Regions from separate parts of the Homo sapiens genome. Here region 2 is linked to region 1. Evidence: promoter capture Hi-C in human tissues and cell types (Jung and others, 2019). All regions are on one chromosome and are shown on one strand. Each heading gives the region's core, a stretch centred on a gene start or on the middle of the fragment in contact. The rest is flanking DNA. Distances are from core to core; before and after follow the strand shown. Region 1 holds the start of ZAR1L (zygote arrest 1 like). Region 2 overlaps LOC124903152 (a long non-coding RNA gene).

Region 1 (3,837 bases), core at 1,338-3,837:
GCTGAGGCTGGAGAATCACCTGAACCCGGGAGGCAAAGGTTGCAGTGAGCTGAGATCACACTACTGCACTCCAGTCTGGGCAACAGAGAGAGAAAGACTCCGTCTCAAACAAACAAACAAACAAAAAACAGGAGATCCTGCCATTTGCAACAACATGGGTGAAACTGGGGAACATTATGCTAAGTGAAATAAGCCAGATAGAAAAATACTGCATAAACTCACTGATATGTGGAATCTGAAAAAGTCAAATACATAGAAGCAGAAAGTAGAATGGTGGTTACCAGGGACAGGAAGTTGGGGGGAATGGAGAGAGACTGGTCAGAGCCTAAAATGTTACAGTTAGGTAGAATGAATGAGTCTAGAGATCTAATTTACAGCATAACGACTACAGTTAACAATACTGTATTTTATACTGAAAAGTTTCAAAGAGAAATTTCAGGTGCTCTCACCGCACACAAAAGAAAGGTAATTATGTGAACAGATGGATATGTTAATTGCTTGACTATAGTAATCATCTCACTGTGTACATATACATGTTGTGCACATTAAATATATACAACTTTTAGGAAATAATGGTTTTTTGGGTTTTTGTTTGTTTGCTTGTTTGAAATGGAGTTTCCTTGCTCTGTCTCCCAGGCAGGAGTGCAGTGGCATGATTTCGGCTCACTGCAACTTCCGCCTCTGGGGTTCAAGTGATTCTCCCACCTCAGCCTCCCAAGTAGCTGGGATTACAGGCACATGCCACCACACCCAGTTAATTTTTGTATTTTTAGTAGAGACAGGGTTTTGCCATGTTGGCCAGGCTGGTCTCGAACTCCTGACCTCAGGTGATCTGCCCACCTTGGCCTCCCAAAGTGCTGTGATTACAGGCGTGAGCCACCATGCCCAGCTGGAAATAATGTTTTTAAGAAAAATTAAAGCATATTGTAAATTGAATACAAATAGTAAATTGAGCAGCTGCACTAGAAGAGAATAGGTGAGAAAGTCTATTATGGTGGAGCTAATAAGTTGCAAGTCCCTGGTACAAAGAGAACAAGAAACATAAAGGTATGGGGGGCTGTATAAAATGACAGAAAATGTTATTTCTGAGACTTGTGTGACATGCCACGGGTTCTCATTAGTCCACTCCTAGTGAGACACCCCTCCCCCACAAAAAGGGGACAAAGCATATTGTTCTGATTTATAGGGTAAATAAATCACAGGTTAGTTAAGTGTATGAAGTCAAATGGACTAGAATTCAAACCTGGGCCTTACTACCAGGCACATTACTTAACTACTTGATTCAGTATCCTCATCTGACAATACTGACCAATTTACAGGATTACTGTAAGATTAAACATGGTATTGCTTGAAAACCCAAAGCAGAATGCCTAACTCATAAAATGTTTGGTAAGTGGCAGCTGTTATTAGTAAGGATCACAGACGTATTTCTTTGCGAATTAGACTTAGAGCAAAAGCTTTAGAATCTATCTGCATTAGTAAGGCCTCCTTCTACAACTAAGGATTACTGATTATCAAACTAAAATGGTCCCTAAGGAACCAAGCGGAGCCCACCCTTTTCCTAATCCAAGGTTGCTTCTGTTTACTGCTCAAGCACCTTCTGGAAGCAGCAAGGCCCCCATGGGAGCAACTCTCACTGAATCCATTTGAAGGTTTTGTAGGTCTTACAACAAACCCTATTCAGCCTTGTATTAGGCATGTTACAGAACCAACGAATTCGGAGATGAAGTCAGGTCTTCCAGTTCAGCCTGCGAGGAAGACAGGTGATCCGAATCCTAAGAATGCAAAAGATGGGCCGGGTGTGGTGGCTCATGCCTGTAATCCCAGCGCTTTGGGAGGCCGAGGCAGGCAGATCACCTGAGGTCGGGAGGTTGAGACCAGACTGACCAACAACGGAGAAACCCCGTCTCTACTTAAAAATGCAAAGTTAGCCGTGCGTGGTGGCCCATGCCTGTATTCCCAGCTACTCGGGAGGCTGAGGCAGGAGAACCACTTGATCCCTGGAGGCGGAAGTTGCGGTGAGCGGAGATTGCGCCATTGCACACCAGCCCGGGCCACAAGAGCGAAACTCCGTCTCAAAAAAAAAAGCAAAAGATACTACCAAGCCCTGCGGAGCAAGGTACCTCACACTTCATGAGCGAGTTAAGATGGGTTTCACAATTTTTCAAGCAAGGAAACGGGCTCGGAGGTCTTGAACACCTGCTACCCAATAGCAGAACAGCTACTGGAACTAAAATCCTCTGATTTCAAATAACAGCCCCGCCCACTACCACTAAGTGAAGTCATCCACAACCACACACCGACCACTCTAAGCTTTTGTAAGATCGGCTCGCTTTGGGGAACAGGTCTTGAGAGAACATCCCTTTTAAGGTCAGAACAAAGGTATTTCATAGGTCCCAGGTCGTGTCCCGAGGGCGCCCACCCAAACATGAGCTGGAGCAAAAAGAAAGGGATGGGGGACTTGGAGTAGGCATAGGGGCGGCCCCTCCAAGCAGGGTGGCCTGGGACTCTTAAGGGTCAGCGAGAAGAGAACACACACTCCAGCTCCCGCTTTATTCGGTCAGATACTGACGGTTGGGATGCCTGACAAGGAATTTCCTTTCGCCACACTGAGAAATACCCGCAGCGGCCCACCCAGGCCTGACTTCCGGGTGGTGCGTGTGCTGCGTGTCGCGTCACGGCGTCACGTGGCCAGCGCGGGCTTGTGGCGCGAGCTTCTGAAACTAGGCGGCAGAGGCGGAGCCGCTGTGGCACTGCTGCGCCTCTGCTGCGCCTCGGGTGTCTTTTGCGGCGGTGGGTCGCCGCCGGGAGAAGCGTGAGGGGACAGATTTGTGACCGGCGCGGTTTTTGTCAGCTTACTCCGGCCAAAAAAGAACTGCACCTCTGGAGCGGGTTAGTGGTGGTGGTAGTGGGTTGGGACGAGCGCGTCTTCCGCAGTCCCAGTCCAGCGTGGCGGGGGAGCGCCTCACGCCCCGGGTCGCTGCCGCGGCTTCTTGCCCTTTTGTCTCTGCCAACCCCCACCCATGCCTGAGAGAAAGGTCCTTGCCCGAAGGCAGATTTTCGCCAAGCAAATTCGAGCCCCGCCCCTTCCCTGGGTCTCCATTTCCCGCCTCCGGCCCGGCCTTTGGGCTCCGCCTTCAGCTCAAGACTTAACTTCCCTCCCAGCTGTCCCAGATGACGCCATCTGAAATTTCTTGGAAACACGATCACTTTAACGGAATATTGCTGTTTTGGGGAAGTGTTTTACAGCTGCTGGGCACGCTGTATTTGCCTTACTTAAGCCCCTGGTAATTGCTGTATTCCGAAGACATGCTGATGGGAATTACCAGGCGGCGTTGGTCTCTAACTGGAGCCCTCTGTCCCCACTAGCCACGCGTCACTGGTTAGCGTGATTGAAACTAAATCGTATGAAAATCCTCTTCTCTAGTCGCACTAGCCACGTTTCGAGTGCTTAATGTGGCTAGTGGCACCGGTTTGGACAGCACAGCTGTAAAATGTTCCCATCCTCACAGTAAGCTGTTACCGTTCCAGGAGATGGGACTGAATTAGAATTCAAACAAATTTTCCAGCGCTTCTGAGTTTTACCTCAGTCACATAATAAGGAATGCATCCCTGTGTAAGTGCATTTTGGTCTTCTGTTTTGCAGACTTATTTACCAAGCATTGGAGGAATATCGTAGGTAAAAATGCCTATTGGATCCAAAGAGAGGCCAACATTTTTTGAAATTTTTAAGACACGCTGCAACAAAGCAGGTATTGACAAATTTTATATAACTTTATAAATTACACCGAGAAAGTGTTTTCTAAAAAATGCTTGCTAAAAACCCAGTACGTCACA
Region 2 (3,595 bases), core at 807-3,306, 1.0 Mb after region 1:
GAGACTGTGTCTCCCTGTTTCCCAGTGTGGAAAAACACTTTCAAAGATGCTTCAAGAAATTTGAAATGTTTCCATTTTATCCAGATGCAGAGAGAATAAGAAGCATAAGACCTTCCAGTTTAATATCATTGCAAGCAAATGTATGAATTTTTATGGATTGCATAATTGTCTCTCTTGTTCATTGAATTTCCTATATAGGAAGGAGAAAGGAGCATTCAACAAACACAATATGCCATGATGCACTATAGATAATGAAGCCTCTATTGTACAAAAAACCAGAAACATAAGATTCTGAAAATTTTATTTTGGAGAAAAATGTTACTAAAGAAAGATACTGCCTGAGAGTGTAAGATGTCTTGACACAGCAGATTTGCAAATAAAATATTGTGTAGTCATGCTACATTCTATACTGCTCTTGTGCAATTTCTGGAAGCTTGCTTCATTTCTGGTCAGATAGATGAGTTAAGTGATTTGGGCAGCATAGTAAAATTTATGTGCCTCACCAAGATACAGCCATGGTACTGAATTAATATCCTGCACTACTGTCCCAACATGCTTTGACAAGGATGCTATTTCATGGCTCAATAAATACTTATGGACTAACTACAAACGTGACAAAAATGTTTGTCCTTCAACTCAACTCTTTTAGGACTAAACATTCAAGGACTCTGAAAAAAGCCCAGAAATGTTGTAAGACTTTTAAAACCACTTTTATTTTAATTTTACAAGCTTGCTAAACTTGCAAAAGGACAGAATAGAAATATACTGTTGGATAAACCCCTAGGAAACTTCACAAAGTCTTAAAGCAAAATTTTCTCCATATGTGCTTTGTTCAACATAAGATGTAAAAAGCACAAAAGAGAAGTAGATATTAATTTCATTAGACATGCTCTATGTCTAAATGATCAAGTTGGTGGCTTACAAAAAATCATATTCTGCGGTCCTCTCAAGAAATTTCCGTGAACGGCATGGCGCGGTGCCTCAAGCCTGTAATCCCAGCACTTTGAGAGGCCGAGGTGGGCGGATCACAAGGTCAGGATATCAAGACCAACCTCGCTAACATGGTGAAATCCTGTCTCTACTAAAAATACAAAAAAATTAGCCGGGTGTGGTGGCTTCAACTCGGGAGGTGGAGGTTGCAGTGAGTCAAGATCGTGCCACTGCACTCCAGCCTGGGCGACAGAGCGAGACTCCGTCTCCAAAAAAAAAAAAAAAGAAGAAGAAAAAAAGAAATTTCAGCGAACCAGCTGGGCTTGTGCCTCTTATTCAGAGCAGCCACCAGCAATTAATGAATATGGTCTTTCTTTTTTCCAATTCAAGGAGGACGCTGTATTGCCCCCCAGGGTGGGCCAGCATATTGCAGATAGGTTAGGCCAAGGTTAAGTTACACCCTTTACAAATGCAAACTTTTTTTTTTTTTGAGATGGAAGCTCTGTGGCCCAGGCTGGAGTGCACTGGTACAATCTCAGCTCACTGCAACCTCCTCCTCTTGGGTTCAAGTGATTCCCCTGCCTCAGCCTCTGGAGTAGCTGGAATTACAGGCATATCCCCACCATACCCGGCTAATTTTTGTATTTTTAGTAGATACGAGGTTTCACCATGTTGGCCAGGCTGGTCTTAAACTCTTGACCTCAAGGGATCTGCCCGCCACGGACAGCTTCCCTAAGTGCTGGGATTACAGGCATAAGCCACTCTGCCAGGCCACAAATACAAACATTTAAGACATTGGTTATCTATTTATATGCTCTGAAAAATTTTACCTTAACCAGTGGTGTCAGAGGCAAAGCATAACCCTTAAAGGTCAGTAAATGGATGCTATATTGGAAAAATCAATATGCACAGCCTTTCCTAAGAGCTAAGCTTTGTTTGATCAGACTATTCCTGGGTATCAGGACACTGGCCAAGTCCTGCCAAAAGTAAAGCTCTTATCCCATTATACGTAGGCCCAACCAGTTATAGTAACCAGAGGAGTGCTCATGCTAAAAACATTTTTTATTTAATAAACTGTGTTTTTCTTTTTTGTGCATATGCAGGCAACTTGAGAAGTATTTTCCTTAAAAAAAGTTTGTTTGCTTTTTTACTTTGCAATATAATTTTTAAATTAAAAAGGCATTTGATCAGTGAGGGTTTTTTTATAGTTTGTTTTTTTTTTTTTAAGACATGGGGTCTCACTGTGCCACCCAGGCTGAAGGGCAGTCGCATGATCATAGCTTACTGAATCTTTGAATTCCTGGGCAAGAGCTATCTTCCCGCCTCAGCCTCCTGAGTAGCTGGGAGCACAGAGGCACGAGCCACCATGCCCATCAATGATTATTTTTGTCCATCAACAGTTCTAGGACCAAATTTGTAACTCTATCACAAAAGATTATGTAATATAGCAGTACTATTGTGATAGAAGAATGTTGAATTTAGAAATAATGTTGCTCTCTTTCTATTTTCCTGAAAATTTAGTACGTGCGTATGTACTAATAGTACTTGCATATGGACATATTTATGTCCAAATATTGCACTCTAACCAAAGAGCCCCCCAGGACTTGGCCCTTGGCCCCTTCCCCTTATCTGCAATCTCTTCTAAGTAGCTCCACCCAGTTCCCAAGTTTTATAAAGTAGTCATATGCCAATAATTCCCACATTATATCTCTGGCTCTGACTTTCCTACAAAGCCGATACTTATGCATCCAATTCCTTGACTTTTACTTTTGGATGTCTAGTAGGCATTCCAAAGCTAATGGAGCCAACAGAGAACCTTTGAGTCCTTTTTCTCTCCCATGCAAATCTGCCAGTTATCCTCATCTTGGCCAACATTGCTACACTCCACTTAGCTGCTCAGATCAAAACCCTAAAACTTAAAGTATAATAATAGTAAAATTAAAAAAAATTATTAATTAAAAAAAAAAATCTGGCTGGGCTCGGTGGCTCATGCCTATCATCCCAGCACCTTGGGAGGTGGAGGTGGGAACATTGTTTGAGCCCAGGAGTTTGAGACCAGACTGGTCTGGGCAACATGAAGAAACCCCATCTCTACAAAAATGCAAAAATTAGCCAGGAGTGGTGACGCAAGCCTGTAGTCCCAGCTACTCGGAAGGCTGATGTGGGAGGACGCTTGAGTCTTCAAGGTTGAGGCTGCACTGAGCCATGATTCCATCACCGTACTCCAGACTGGGCAACAGATTGAGACCCTGTCTTAAAAAAAAAAAAAAAAAAAACAAATCTACAAATCTAGTAGTCCCTCTCCCTAGCTTCCAACAACCAACCTGTTATTGTCTCTATTTCAAGACACACTCCAAATCTGTTCCTTTCTCTCCATTTCTATCACTATCACCCTAGTCCATGTCACTGTTTATCTCTCACCTAGACCATCACTGGTAGTAATTTATTCAGGTCTTGTCACTCCTCTGCTTGAAGCCCTTTGTTCTTATCTCCTGTAGAACCAAATCAAAACTTCTTTTCCTGCCAACAAAGCCTAACTTTATCTTATAACCTGACCCTCTGTCTACACTTCTGACATCCACTCTTACCACCTATTTCATTATTCTCCAGGCACGACTGATCTTTTTTTTTCTGTCCCTGTGATAGGACAAGTTCCTTCTGACCT

Evidence for each region. The method cuts DNA at HindIII sites, captures the fragments that hold promoters and counts their contacts. A contact is called where the count stands out against the background at its distance.
Region 2: a fragment that was not itself captured here is called in contact with the fragment with the promoter of ZAR1L in region 1 in 1 of the 25 tissues and cell types used here (dorsolateral prefrontal cortex).

The regions. Positions count from the first base shown.
Region 1 is chr13:32,312,776-32,316,612 of GRCh38, forward strand. It overlaps ZAR1L (zygote arrest 1 like), which reads right to left and starts at 2,588. Exons shown (of 6, transcript NM_001136571.2): 1 at 2,540-2,588; 2 at 1,555-1,775. It overlaps BRCA2 (BRCA2 DNA repair associated), which reads left to right and starts at 2,733. Exons shown (of 27, transcript NM_000059.4): 1 at 2,733-2,892; 2 at 3,647-3,752. The coding sequence starts at 3,686. RefSeq lists a silencer at 1,784-2,004, a cis regulatory region at 2,123-2,189, a promoter at 2,518-3,014 and an enhancer at 3,123-3,392. The HindIII fragment of the contact is 8,154 bases long and covers 1,886-3,837 here.
Region 2 is chr13:33,340,392-33,343,986 of GRCh38, forward strand. The region is part of intron 2 of LOC124903152 (a long non-coding RNA gene); the gene reads left to right. It also overlaps a transcript of STARD13 not described here. Among named protein-coding and RNA genes, the nearest start is that of LINC02344, 6.9 kb to the left of the region's middle. The HindIII fragment of the contact is 7,040 bases long and covers 1-3,595 here.